5 separate regions of the Homo sapiens genome follow, and regions 1, 2, 3 and 4 are each linked to region 5. The links are contacts of gene promoters, found by promoter capture Hi-C in blood cells and fetal thymus (Javierre and others, 2016). All regions are on one chromosome and are shown on one strand. The core of a region is centred on a gene start or on the middle of the fragment in contact, and the rest is flanking DNA. Distances in the headings are between cores, read along the strand shown. Region 1 overlaps CENPF (centromere protein F). Region 2 has its middle 14 kb from the start of CENPF. Region 3 overlaps CENPF (centromere protein F). Region 4 has its middle 64 kb from the start of CENPF. Region 5 holds the start of KCTD3 (potassium channel tetramerization domain containing 3).

What was found. Contacts are between HindIII fragments. The CHiCAGO score rates a contact against its expected background, and 5 or more counts as called.
Region 1: a fragment that was not itself captured here is called in contact with the fragment with the promoter of KCTD3 in region 5 in 2 of 17 cell types (M0 macrophages and M2 macrophages); the score reaches 7.2 in M0 macrophages.
Region 2: a fragment that was not itself captured here is called in contact with the fragment with the promoter of KCTD3 in region 5 in 2 of 17 cell types (M0 macrophages and total CD4 T cells); the score reaches 5.7 in M0 macrophages.
Region 3: a fragment that was not itself captured here is called in contact with the fragment with the promoter of KCTD3 in region 5 in 5 of 17 cell types (M0 macrophages, M2 macrophages, erythroblasts and 2 more); the score reaches 9.2 in M0 macrophages.
Region 4: a contact is called between a fragment that was not itself captured here and the fragment with the promoter of KCTD3 in region 5, in 1 of 17 cell types (M2 macrophages). The highest score is 6.0, in M2 macrophages.

What each region holds. Positions count from the first base shown.
Region 1 is chr1:214,643,033-214,645,732 of GRCh38, forward strand. CENPF (centromere protein F) reads left to right here. Exons shown (of 20, transcript NM_016343.4): 12 at 1-292; 13 at 1,525-2,700. Among named protein-coding and RNA genes, the nearest start is that of CENPF, 41 kb to the left of the region's middle. The HindIII fragment of the contact is 6,470 bases long and covers 1-2,700 here.
Region 2 is chr1:214,588,344-214,591,043 of GRCh38, forward strand. No RefSeq gene overlaps it. Among named protein-coding and RNA genes, the nearest start is that of CENPF, 14 kb to the right of the region's middle. The HindIII fragment of the contact is 8,063 bases long and covers 1-2,700 here.
Region 3 is chr1:214,614,188-214,616,887 of GRCh38, forward strand. CENPF (centromere protein F) reads left to right here. Exons shown (of 20, transcript NM_016343.4): 3 at 645-841. Among named protein-coding and RNA genes, the nearest start is that of CENPF, 12 kb to the left of the region's middle. RefSeq lists an enhancer at 632-1,831. The HindIII fragment of the contact is 6,674 bases long and covers 1-2,700 here.
Region 4 is chr1:214,665,487-214,668,186 of GRCh38, forward strand. No RefSeq gene overlaps it. Among named protein-coding and RNA genes, the nearest start is that of CENPF, 64 kb to the left of the region's middle. The HindIII fragment of the contact is 5,458 bases long and covers 1-2,700 here.
Region 5 is chr1:215,566,028-215,568,727 of GRCh38, forward strand. It overlaps KCTD3 (potassium channel tetramerization domain containing 3), which reads left to right and starts at 1,277. Exons shown (of 18, transcript NM_016121.5): 1 at 1,277-1,741. The coding sequence starts at 1,659. LOC124904599 (a long non-coding RNA gene) reads right to left here and starts at 1,330. Exons shown (of 2, transcript XR_922599.2): 1 at 1,253-1,330; 2 at 400-1,107. RefSeq lists a silencer at 1,409-1,678 and an enhancer at 1,491-2,351. The HindIII fragment of the contact is 6,743 bases long and covers 301-2,700 here.

The DNA.
Region 1 (2,700 bases), core at 145-2,644, 920 kb before region 5:
GCTAGAAGAGAAAATGGAAAGTCAAGGGATTATGAAAAATAAGGAAATTCAAGAGCTCGAGCAGTTATTAAGTTCTGAAAGGCAAGAGCTTGACTGCCTTAGGAAGCAGTATTTGTCAGAAAATGAACAGTGGCAACAGAAGCTGACAAGCGTGACTCTGGAGATGGAGTCCAAGTTGGCGGCAGAAAAGAAACAGACGGAACAACTGTCACTTGAGCTGGAAGTAGCACGACTCCAGCTACAAGGTCTGGACTTAAGTTCTCGGTCTTTGCTTGGCATCGACACAGAAGATGTAAGTACCTGGGATTTAAATGCCATTTCTCGGTTTACATGACTAGTGGACACTCAGTAAATGTTTGTCTAATTGAAATGTACATTAAACCTAAGTTAAAATATTTTTAGGGTTCAAGGAAATAAAATACACCAAAATATTTTCAAAACAAACCAGAACTTGAGGAAAATGAGTAAACGTTATTTGAGGAATAAATTTCTATAGGGATTAGATTTACATAGCATTATATAGAATATTACTAAAGATGTTTTTAAAGTCTGGAGAAAATTATATTATGGAGTCAGAAAGTCTTTAGAATGTGTGTTTCCACCCTTTGTGCATTAATAAAGTATACTGAAATAATTAAGAACTTACAAATGGTAATATGTAAATTTTTAATCTCTCCCACTTTTCAGACTATTTTTGATGTTATGGCATTATCGTCATGAAACTAAATACAGCAGATTCTTTATGTATTACTAAACAGTTTTCTCTCTAACAATTTACTGTGGTACAAAAATATGATTTGGTATAAGTCATTTAAAAGGGCTTTTAAAAAATTGAATACATATTTGTTTAATTGCTTGTAACTTTGTCCTTTCTAGCCTGCTAGCTTAATTAATAATGCTATATAGTGTATGCATGTCACTTGATTTCCTCTGTCTATCTCTGTGAGGTAGAGAAGGCAGGTCATGGTGAGGTGATGGCAGGTGTAGGTGCAACAGCAGATCCCCAGTTTACAGATGAGAGGAAAGTGAGGCTCAAATATGTAATTTATCCAATAATGTACAGTAAGTGCTGGATTGGGGATTAAGTCCTTGGACTGGGAATCTGGTTATGAAACTTTACTGCCTTATTAAAGAGTATCATAAATGCTGAAGGTGGAAGCTGAGCATTTTGTTAGCCTCTTATTTAATAATTACAAAGAGATTTCATATTTAGGCTACCTGAATATTCTTAGCAAGGGAAAAATATGAAATTTAAATACATTACAAATTGTAATTGAGCCGAAGGGTTTGTCTTCAAGATAAATGCCTAACCCCAGTGTCTTGCCCATAGGGGCCACTTACTGAACGTATAAGTATGTTGAACATTTGAATGAAGAGAGAAAGATGTAGTGGGAAATTCACCACTTTAAGAGATGTGTTTAGCAGAGGCCACGCATCAGTTTCTAAAAAGTAATAACTAAATCTATTCTATTTTGATTCTTTTTGAAAAATAAAATGCATGCTTGTTATGTATTATAATTACAGGCTATTCAAGGCCGAAATGAGAGCTGTGACATATCAAAAGAACATACTTCAGAAACTACAGAAAGAACACCAAAGCATGATGTTCATCAGATTTGTGATAAAGATGCTCAGCAGGACCTCAATCTAGACATTGAGAAAATAACTGAGACTGGTGCAGTGAAACCCACAGGAGAGTGCTCTGGGGAACAGTCCCCAGATACCAATTATGAGCCTCCAGGGGAAGATAAAACCCAGGGCTCTTCAGAATGCATTTCTGAATTGTCATTTTCTGGTCCTAATGCTTTGGTACCTATGGATTTCCTGGGGAATCAGGAAGATATCCATAATCTTCAACTGCGGGTAAAAGAGACATCAAATGAGAATTTGAGATTACTTCATGTGATAGAGGACCGTGACAGAAAAGTTGAAAGTTTGCTAAATGAAATGAAAGAATTAGACTCAAAACTCCATTTACAGGAGGTACAACTAATGACCAAAATTGAAGCATGCATAGAATTGGAAAAAATAGTTGGGGAACTTAAGAAAGAAAACTCAGATTTAAGTGAAAAATTGGAATATTTTTCTTGTGATCACCAGGAGTTACTCCAGAGAGTAGAAACTTCTGAAGGCCTCAATTCTGATTTAGAAATGCATGCAGATAAATCATCACGTGAAGATATTGGAGATAATGTGGCCAAGGTGAATGACAGCTGGAAGGAGAGATTTCTTGATGTGGAAAATGAGCTGAGTAGGATCAGATCGGAGAAAGCTAGCATTGAGCATGAAGCCCTCTACCTGGAGGCTGACTTAGAGGTAGTTCAAACAGAGAAGCTATGTTTAGAAAAAGACAATGAAAATAAGCAGAAGGTTATTGTCTGCCTTGAAGAAGAACTCTCAGTGGTCACAAGTGAGAGAAACCAGCTTCGTGGAGAATTAGATACTATGTCAAAAAAAACCACGGCACTGGATCAGTTGTCTGAAAAAATGAAGGAGAAAACACAAGAGCTTGAGTCTCATCAAAGTGAGTGTCTCCATTGCATTCAGGTGGCAGAGGCAGAGGTGAAGGAAAAGACGGAACTCCTTCAGACTTTGTCCTCTGATGTGAGTGAGCTGTTAAAAGACAAAACTCATCTCCAGGAAAAGCTGCAGAGTTTGGAAAAGGACTCACAGGCACTGTCTTTGACAAAATGTGAGCTG
Region 2 (2,700 bases), core at 24-2,523, 980 kb before region 5:
ATAGCCACTAGCCCCGATAGCATAGCTGCTCTGATGATGAGACCGTTGTGCAAACGCTTTGGTAATGAAGGACACTCACTGGACAATCCACCAGAAAAATTGTCCTGTCCACCTGGTTGTTTCCTGTCTTACCTATGGTGGATGCTCTCTAGTGGGTATTGACAAAAGATGCAAGACCCCCACAATCTTTTTCCGTTCCTAAAAGGTCTATCTACAATCCTCTTCTTTAAATCTCTATGTCTACAATAATTTAATGTTGTTCCTATCAGCCAAATTATTTGCCCAGCAATATATTCTAACCTTGGACCACCTTTTCCCCATATGAAGTAGATGATCTGCTGTTCTGCTCACAGCTCTGCCCTTTGAAGTCCCCTGTTGTGGTGTTGTAGGGAGCAGCCACCTATTTTCAAGACATACCAACATATGAAGCCAACCTATCTGTGAACCACAATCAGGTGTTTTTTGGGTGGGCTACTTTTGGGGAACTCACCACAAGGCCATAGATGGGTATTGAGAGAGAAAGCCTTTGTGAAACAGAGTAGGTGACTTATGGCTTGCTATTTATGTTAAGTTATTTATGCGTTTTCAACCTGCTTGGGCCTCATCCTAGGATGGTTTGCTGCCACATCCGCTAGAACCCATGACTTGGTAGATCTGGCAATATTCAGGTAGTGATGGACTGTTCTGGTTATACACCTGATGTTACAAGGTCAGGTGCTCAGTGTCTGCTGGCCCAGTAGCACAACAGGAGCTGCTTTTCAAATGATAAGTCATTCTCTAGTGGAGAAAACATGACCTTGTTCCAGAATACTAGGGAGCCTGTGCAATGAATCTCTCATTGAGACATGCCAGACGGTCGGCCTTAATTTGCCATGGGTATCTCTAGCATTGTAGATCTGCCAGATGATATGGCCAAGTGCTGGATGCTTGCTTCATTTTGCACTGTAGTTGCTTTCAGCTTTCTGCTGGGCCAATACGTGAGTTTTTCTTGTTATAGAAATCAAGCAAAACTCAAGTGTGTTAGCCATCTATCTCTTACCTAGAAACATAATAGTCTATTAGTCATAACCACAGATCCCTGGACTTTATTTCTATTCCAGCTGTGCTGTCCATTGCAGCAACTACTTTCACCTTGCCATTGACAAGGTTATTAAGCACTGGCCCTGGCCTAGGCCATTCTAGATTTCTATTCATGCCATTCTATAGCAGCATCTTCTACTGTCAACCCTGGCCTATAGAGGTCAGCCACCACTGGACAGCTTAAAGATGTTGGTGTCCCCCTTTCTAGACATTCTTTGTTGTCTTAGTGGAGGCAATATCCTTTGGTCCCTTCTAGAAATAATAATCTGGTGGTGATCTTAGGTAATAAATCCAGTCTAACTTTCCCACCTCATGAAGATTGCTTTTTTTTTTTTTTTGATGGAATTTTGCTCTTGTCGCACACGCTAGAGTGCAGTGGTGGGATTTTGGCTCATAGCAAACTCAGCCTCCCAGGTTCAAGCGATTCTTCTGCCTCAGCCTCCTAAGTAGCTGGGATTACAGGCATGTGCCATCATGCTTGGCTAATTTTGTATTTTTAGTAGAGATGGAGTTTCACCATGTTGGTCATGCTGGTCTCAAACTCCTGACCTCAGGTGATCTGCCTGCCTTGGCTTCCAAAAGTGCTGAGATTACAGGCATAAGCCACCATGCCCAGCCCCTAAAGACTGCTATTCCTACCCTTAGTACTGGTAACTATGGTTTTAGCATATCAACCCTACTTGCTAAAGGTCATCATCACGTTCAGACTTCAAGAAGCCATCCAGAATGGCACATTCAGAATTTAACATTCTTGCCAGAACGTTAAATCCCAAATCACGAGAGTGCTCCCATGTCAGTAAGCCCTAGCCTGTCCAACCTTATATTCTGTACTCCCTCTCCTCCCAGCCTCCTCAAGATCAACTTTCAAGCATGTCCTGATTCCTGCTTGTACTTATTACCCAGGTCCTGCAACTCTTTTGGTGAGGAAACCATTCCCTCCCAGAGTAGGAAGAGGTGTGGAGACAATTGGGGGAGGTGGAAGTGGGCGCAGGAGAGAAGTGACTAGGAAAGTGATCATGCAAGGATAAGCCTTAGGTGGACCCACTGACGTATTCTCACCTCAGATCTCACAATTCTACCCCATCCATATCAAGGCCCTAACATTAGCAAGGAAAACTCTGCCATGAGACCACCCAGAAGGCTGTTGAGTAATAAAGGCAAGAATTGACAGTAGTCAGGACAAGGTACTGGGCAGTGAGAATGGAGAACATGGGAGAGATGGGGAATATTTGTGTATTTGTGGGAGATATAATTGATAGGATATACGAAAGGAGTAGGGGGTTGATTCTAAAGTTTCAAACTTAGTTAGCTGTGTGAACGAGGATATCATTTACGGAGATGGGGAAGTAGTAAAAAGAGCAGGTGTGGAGGAATTCCTTTTTTTTGAAGACAGTCTTACTCTGTCGCCCAGGCTGGAGTGCAGTGGTGTGATCCCAGCTTACTGCAGCCTTGACCTCCTAGGCTCAAGTAATCCTCCCACCTGGTGGCTGTCCAGTGAATTTTTAATTCGGCCATTGTATGTTTTATCTTTAACAATTTTGCTTTTCTTTTATATTTTTCCACCTCTCTTCTCAAAATGCCACGTTTTCTGTTAAATTTTCAGCATGTTGAATAGTATTT
Region 3 (2,700 bases), core at 108-2,607, 950 kb before region 5:
ATATTTAGGGCTATTGAGTTCCATTTCAACTTCCATGTGGGACCATGAATTGGAGATTGCTTTTGCACTGCATAGCAACAAGGCAAAAGGTGTCTGCTCCTAATCTGGGGACAGTATTAGAGCATTTTGCAGTTAAATGGTTGTGGCTTTCTTAGACTGGGCTTTTTACCTTGGTATTCCTCAACCTTTTCAGGTCTAGAAAATGAAAACTAAACAGTACTTTTTAAAAATTACCTCTCTATTAGCCAACTAAATAGTGATACAGTCATTGCTTCTAAAAGGATTTTGCTTGTGGGAGAATTTTCTGGTTTCTAACAATAACTGGTTTTAGCAGCCAAACTTGAAAATGAATTGTTAAGGGAGATTTATAGGATTTATTTCCTATTTTTTAATTTTTGAAAGGATAGTAAAGACTCCCTTTCTAGGATGGGTGTGTCTGGCCAAAGATGATATACTACATGGCTTCAAAGAAGTTTCCTATCTATTGGCTTCAAAGTGTGATCATCTAAAATTTCTGTGTTCATATGGCTTATTGCAGCTGTATCTCAGGAATTTAGTAGTCAATGTTAGACTCAGGTTTACCAATAATACTTGGTAAATTCACAAAATAAGGGAGTTATTGTCTTCTGAACAATTCTCATTAGGTTGAAAATGAAAAAACCGAGGGTACAAACCTGAAAAGGGAGAATCAAAGATTGATGGAAATATGTGAAAGTCTGGAGAAAACTAAGCAGAAGATTTCTCATGAACTTCAAGTCAAGGAGTCACAAGTGAATTTCCAGGAAGGACAACTGAATTCAGGCAAAAAACAAATAGAAAAACTGGAACAGGAACTTAAAAGGTAATATTTTGGGATGGTATTTATAGGGATGATATTTGTATGTATTAATCAGATGCGTTTGTCTTTTCCTTTAACAATATAATTATTATACTTTGCAATTTTTTTTCCTGGTAGAATAAGTAATGATTCGGTCTCTGTACCGTAACTTGAAAGAGTGGAAGATTAAAAACAAACAAACAGTGATTTGGTTTTATCATTGCATAGCTCAGTACGATATAAATTTATCAAATGTTTGCTGCATTACTCATGTATTCATTCAGTATATGTTTATTAAGCTGTACCATGATTCAGACACTATTGGTCACTGAGTAATACAATAATAAATAGTACTATCATACTATCAAATTGATAGTATGATAATACTAGTTACATAGCATTATTTGATAGTATGATAGTACTTGTTAAAATAAAACTATCGACAGCTGTTACCGAAAAGATGGAAATTAGTTGAAGCATACTGATGGCTCGTGTTTTCTCTGGGTGGAAAAGCTGCTGTAGAGAATGAGAGGGAGAACTAGGGAATTATAAAAGGACGGAATAGCATGGAGGGCCCAGTTGAGATTGGAGACAGAATATAAGCAGGCCCAATCTGCAAGGTTGTGTGATAATTTAAAAAATGTTTCCTTTTGGCTGGGCTAGGTGGCTCATGCCTGTAATCCCAGCACTTTAGGAGGCCGAGGCAAGTGGATTACCTGAGGTCAGGAGTTTGAGACCAGCATGGCCAACATGGTGAAACCCCCTCTCTACTAAAAATACAAAAATTAGCGAGGTGTAGTGGCGGGCACCTCTAATCTCAGCTACTCAGGAGGCTGAGGCAGGAGAATCGCTTGAACCTGGGAGGTGGAAGTTGCAGTGAGCCGAGTTCGTGCCATATCCTTATAGCACATTTGGTTTTAAAATATTCTTCTTATCTAGTAGACTACAAAAACTACTGAATATGGTTTTAAAATTTACACTGCTAACTTCCAAATGCATTGCAGAAACTTATTTTTTCCATCAGTTGTCACTGATTAGGTTTCTGGAAGGTCTCCAACAAGTGAGGTTGAACCGTTTGGAATGTTTGTTAAAACTGTGGAGATTGGCAATCTCATATAGTTCAACCTAGTAGAAGATGCTTTTAGCTTTGTAGTGCTTTTTTGATGATGGTGTTTGTGTTTTTCTTCTTAGGGGGAAGAAGAAAAAATGGTTTATGAAAATAATAGCAGGGTATACTTTTGTTTAAGTAATAAATAACTTTGTTTAAAATGAAAGGATAGGGAAAAGAGAATAAGATACGAATTTAAAGTGGAAAAGAAACACTGGTTTTGCAAGATTCTTCAAAATTCACCTCGAATCAGCAGATTTGTGACATCTTTGCTAATCTGTAGACCTGCAACGTCCAATATGGTAGTCACTGGCTACAAGTGGCAATTATGATGTACTTCAAATGTGGCTGGTGCAAATTGAGATGAGCTGTAGTGTATGATGGATGCCAAATTCTGAAAATTTAGTATGAAAAAATGTAAAATATTTTATTAGTAACTTTCCTATTAATTACAAGTTGAAATGAGAGTATCTTGAAAATAGCAAGTTAAATTAAATATTAATTTTACTTATTTCTCGGTGCTTTTTAAATACTAGTGGAACATTTCCATTGGACCTTGCTGTTTCCTACTGTAAGCTCAGATGTGGTGGTTTGATTTGCTGAGAAGTCATTTTTAGCTCATACATTGCCTCTTCTCAGATTAAATTTGGAGCTAAATGGAGCTAAGGGCTTTCTTTCTTTCTTTGTTTCTTTCTTTCCTTCCTTCCTTCTTTCCTTCCTTCCTCTTTCTTTCTTTCTTTCTTTCTTTCTTTCTTTCTTTCTTTCTTTCTTTCTT
Region 4 (2,700 bases), core at 37-2,536, 900 kb before region 5:
ACCTCTGCTTCCTAGCTTCAAGCCATTCTCCTGCCTCAGCCTCCCAGGTGGCTGGGACTACAGGCATGTGCCACCATGCCTGGCAGTTTTTTTTGTATTTTTAGTAGAGATGGGGTTTCACCATGCTGGCCAGGCTGGTCTCGATCATCTTTATAATTGTAGAGAGTTGTTCAAAATCTTGTAAGTGGACAGCCAGGACATTATTCTTTTCCTCAAGCTGACAGTACTTGTTCTGCTATGAGCTGAGCTGCATACGGGATGAAAGTAAACATGCTACCATTCCAACTTTCAAGTACCTTATAAGCCAGTTGAGTCATGAGTAAGATCCCCCGCTGACAAATCATATGGGAAAATGAATCAAGTTCAGAGATCTGGGAATCAGATTCTCATCTGTACAATGAGGAGCTTGGTTGAGATGATTCTTTTACCGTAAATATTGGATAAGAGCTGAAATGGACCTTTGTGTTATTGGGAGTTGCTGGCAGTCTAAGGGGACTGCATCTTCAGTAAGAAAGAAATAAGAACCAAAATTTAAATGTAGCCTGATTTCTATTTCTTGAGACACTCCTCCCCTCACCCTCTCACTTGCCTTCTTTGAGATTTATTTGTGATTTTTCTCATTTGATTCCAGTTTATTTATTTTGTTGGAACTACTAAATTTTCACAGATTTGTTTGCACCTGGGAAGAAGTCAGGGCACTTCTTCCTGGGGGCCCGTAACTCAAGGAGGGGAGACCTCTTCCACTTTCCAACTGGTTTGAGTCTGCAGAAGTTTCTAACTTCTCTTAGCATGGCTCAACACCAATTGTTATTTTAGAATTTCCAAGTTCTTCCAAAATCCTTCAGGCTATGGGCAGTATGTCGTGAAAGAAATTTAAATAGTAAATAAACTGATGAGTTCTTGTAAGCCATAGGTTTATTGCACCACAGTCGGAAGTTGCACTGATCATTAGCATGTTTTTCATATTTCTCTTCTGTAGTTAAGGAGGGGGATACAATTATTTTTGAAGAGAACAGTAAGTACCTAAAATTAACTACCACTTGGTAGTTGAGAGTTATGTGCTCTCCCGCTTCGGTTCATGTGAGCTGACTTCTCTTTGAAGGGAAAGGGGTTGTATGCTAACTCACTGACCGAGGAGAGAATAGAGCCTTGAGTGCTTCAGAAGAGCCTGGCTATTCTCATTTGAAAAGTCTGAGGACCTGAAGCTGCCATCCTACCTGCAAGCCCAGCTATGTATCTAATGCTACTACTCACTTTAGCTTTGGCTCAACTACTTAAAATACTGGATGGAAAGTCTTACATTTTACAAGGTATTTTCATGTGTGCTGAAACTTCCACCTTTGTGAGGTAAGAGACAGAGGTCAAACTTCTCACTCATAGGCCTGGGGAGATCTTGCTTAATGATAATTGTGTGTCTCCCCACAACCTTGCAAAATGAAGATTATCCTTATCAAACAGAAGATAAAATAGGCTCAGCGTATTTGGCCCAGGAAGTAGCAGAGTTGAGTTTCGACCTCAGCTTTGCAAATACAAAACCCATTCTCTTGTTTGTCCTGTAGCTTCTCTGGAAGCAGTCTTTTCCAGAATAATTCTGATAGTATAGATTTTCAGATGATATTAAGTAGCTTTTCCACTTTCTATGTGCAATGGCAATGAAGATATCTAGGCTGTCTGCATCTGATTTGGGTTACCTTATATTTAATTTCAAAAATGTAAAATGGGACTAGCTATACATTTTAACTCCTAAAAGTTGTCTACCAACTAAAAGTTGTCTACTAACTGAATGCATACGCATTATTTATGTAGAGGTAAATCCTTTCAAAGAGTCTTTTTTGCAATTCAACAAAGAAACCTTATTAAAAAGTGGGCATGAACAGACACTTCTCAAAAGAAGACATACAAGTGACCAACAAACATGAAAAATTGCTCGACATCACTAATCATCAGAGAAATACAAATCAAAACCACAATAAGACACCATCTCACACCAGTCAGAATGGGTATTATGAAAACATCAGAAATTAACATGCTGGCAAGGTTGTGGTGAAAAGGGAATGCCTATACAGTGATGGTGGGAATACAAATTAATTCAGCCACTCAGGAAAGCAATTTGGAGATTTCTCAAAGAACTTATACAATAGAACTACCATTCTACCCAGCAATCCCATTACTGGGTATATACCCAAAGGCAAATAAATCATTCTGCCAAAAAGACACATGCACTCCTATGTTCATCACAGCACTATTCACAATAGGAAAGATACGGAATCAACCTAGGTGCCCATCAATAGTGGACTGGATAAAGAAAATGTGCTACATATACGCCATGGAACACTATGATGCCATAAATAAAAATTCAATCATGTACTTTGCAGCAACATGGATACAACTGGAGGCCATTATCCTAAGCAAATTAACTCAGGAAACCAAATACCACAGGTTCTCACTTATAAGTTGGAGCTAAATATTGGGTACATGTGGACATAAAGATGGGAACAATAGACACTGAGGACTACTAGATGGGGGAAGGAGGAAGGGGGGACCAAGAGTTGAAAAACTATTGGGTACTATGCTCACTACTTTGATGATGGGATAGATCATATCCCAAACCTCAGCATTATGAGATATACCCATGTAACAAACCTGCACATGTACTGCCTGTATCTAAAAAGTGGAAGTTATGTATTAAAAAAAGTTTGG
Region 5 (2,700 bases), core at 27-2,526:
TAGATTCCTAGTTGCTGCTGCTTTAATCTGAACTGTTACTCATCTTCCCTGTCTAAAGTGAAGATAATGAGGTACAATGCAGTGGTAAGGATGGTGAACAGTGGCCTTGAATTCAAGCTGCTTGCCTTGAAATTCCTGCCATCCCACTTGCTACCTATGTAATTTTGAGCAAGTTTTTTTGATCATTTTCATTCCCAAATTTCCTTTTTTAAAAATAATTATAACATTAGTTGTGACGAAGAAAGATGACAAAATATCTAAACCACCGGGTATATGATAAACACAAATTAGCTATTATTAAGCTTATCATCAACTGGGAGAAATAATACTTATCTTACATCCATATGTACTATTAACATCTTTCAAGTCGAATCTAGATAGAGCATATCACAACATTAGTATGCTTGCCAGAGGCTATTTTTTATTTTTTTGGTAAAAATTATGACAATGACAATAAAAACTTAACATCAGATACATTATCAGTTTGAATTATTATGATACAACTATGACAAAACAATTCATGTTAAGAATTTAGTACCACAAACTAATGACCTCTGAAACATAACGCACTATCTTTGTTAGTCTTTGTTAGCAGGGCATCAAGTATTATAGTATTCCGATTTAAAAAATATTTTAATAGCCACTAAGGTTTTGGGTTTGAATAGATACCGTTTAAAGCAAAAACAAATAAATAAACAAGCGCATAAAATTGTGTGTTTTCTGCGTGTGTCTAACATTAGTTGAGTGCTTACTATATTCCAGAAATAGGTTGCTGGGCATTACACAGTCTAGGGGTTTTTGTCCTTTGGTTTCCTTCCTGCTTAACAAACAAAAGCAAAAAACAAAACAAAAAAACTGCTTGGGAGATTGGGGATTAAATTGAAGAGGGTAAAGTAAGCAGTTTTCTGGGGTAAACGCTGTAAGGTTTTAAAATCTCCAAATGTTCCCTGCATTTGCACTGTCTACATTTAGGCATCAACTTTTACTACCTCTAGGATTAGTTTTTCCTTTCCCAATCCATGTTGACAAAGTGGGTCATAAAGATCCGTAGATCGTTTGCCCAGATCTGCCCTCAATCTGCGAATCAGCTTCCTCGTTTTAGAAAATCTGAAATGTAAAAGGGAAAGGGGCTGGGATCGCGTGGGGAGGAGGAACGAAATGGAATCCCGCGTGGGCAGGCGGCTGGCCAGGAGCACATTCCCCTAGCCTCCCTACGCGCCAGCCCCGCGGCGTTGGGAAGCTCCTCCCTGACCTTTCCTTCCTCCTCCTCCTCCTCATTCTAGGCGGCAGTGGCGGGCGAAGCGTGAGCGCTGCGGTATTTTGTCCCGAACGGTGACCCCTCCTCCCAGGCAGGCTGCGGCGGCGTCGGTGGCAGCGGAGCACGGAGAAGAGGCCCGGGCGGCCCGGCGGCCTGGAGGCCGCGAAAGGTGGAGGCCGGGCCGCCCTTGTGCACCGCAGGATTGACCCGGGAAGGGGCAGAAGCTAGCGAGCCCCGCCCGGCCGCCGGGAAGGTGGGGGAAGCCCCGTGCACCCCCCGCCCTCCGGCCGCCGCCGCCCCGCTGGCCCTGCAGCCGTCGCCGCTGCCTCGGGCTACAGCCCCGGGCTCGGCGGTCCCGGCTGGGGAAGGAGGGCGGCGAGCGCGTCCGGAGCCGCCGGAGATGGCGGGAGGGCACTGCGGCAGCTTCCCCGCGGCGGCGGCCGGCAGCGGCGAGATCGTCCAACTGAACGTAGGGGGGACCAGGTGAGTCGGCGGGTAGCGGGCTTGCAGCGGGGATGCCTTGGCGGCCTCCTCCTTTGGTGTCGACGGGGACCGAGAGTCGCAGGAACGAGGGCGAGCGTGGGAGGCCAAGCCTGGAGGGGAACGTGGGGGCCTCCAGGCGGCAAGAACGTCGGGCGGATTTTGGAGCTGGTGAAGCATCTGCTCTGGGAAGGGAGAGGCAGAAGGGACGCTTGGAATTACCGAGGACCAGGCCCATGTGGCAGAGTAGCTGCTGTCCTAGAATGCCAACCTTTGCCCCTCCCAACAGGCAAGGAGAACCATTACACAGCCTTCCTTACCTCATCTCAGATTAGAGTGTATTTGAGGACTTTATTTAGTAGAAACCTGGCTTTGTGGTTTGGATGTTGGAGATGAACTTGCTTTCCTTTCTCTTTGGTCAACGAGGTGTCGGTTTTCTTAGGGAAGAGTGCGGTGTTCTTTTCCGCGCCTAATTAGGGGATTTGTAATTTGAAAGATTTCTGTGATGGGAGTGCAGTAGGTTTGCAGTACCTAGTTATTTATTTTCAGAATTTCTTGGTGCATGGGCTTGAAGGATCTGTTCAACTTCTAGGACAGTGTGTCCAGAAACTGCAGTTTGAACATTTGCTTTTAGGAAGCTCTGGATATTGGCACGGTGTGACGCCCTTGGAGTAAACAGACTGAATGCTCTTCTCTGTCTGTTCTCTTTCTGGCCTTCCGCCCCCCCCCCCCCCCGCCCCTTCTGTGCCTGTTATTAAGTTTGTTGGGGGAAAAAATCGTAGTTTTTGTGGATTTCCTATAACTTATGAGTCACTCCTCTCAGAAAAGGGAGTTTGCCAGCTGTTTGAAAGAAGGATTAGTTGAGTTTTAGGCTTGGTAAGGAGATAAACAAGGAAATGCTCTGGAATACAGTTAATTTTTCTGTGCTTGAGAATATGATTTTCAACCAGCATTTTAAAAGT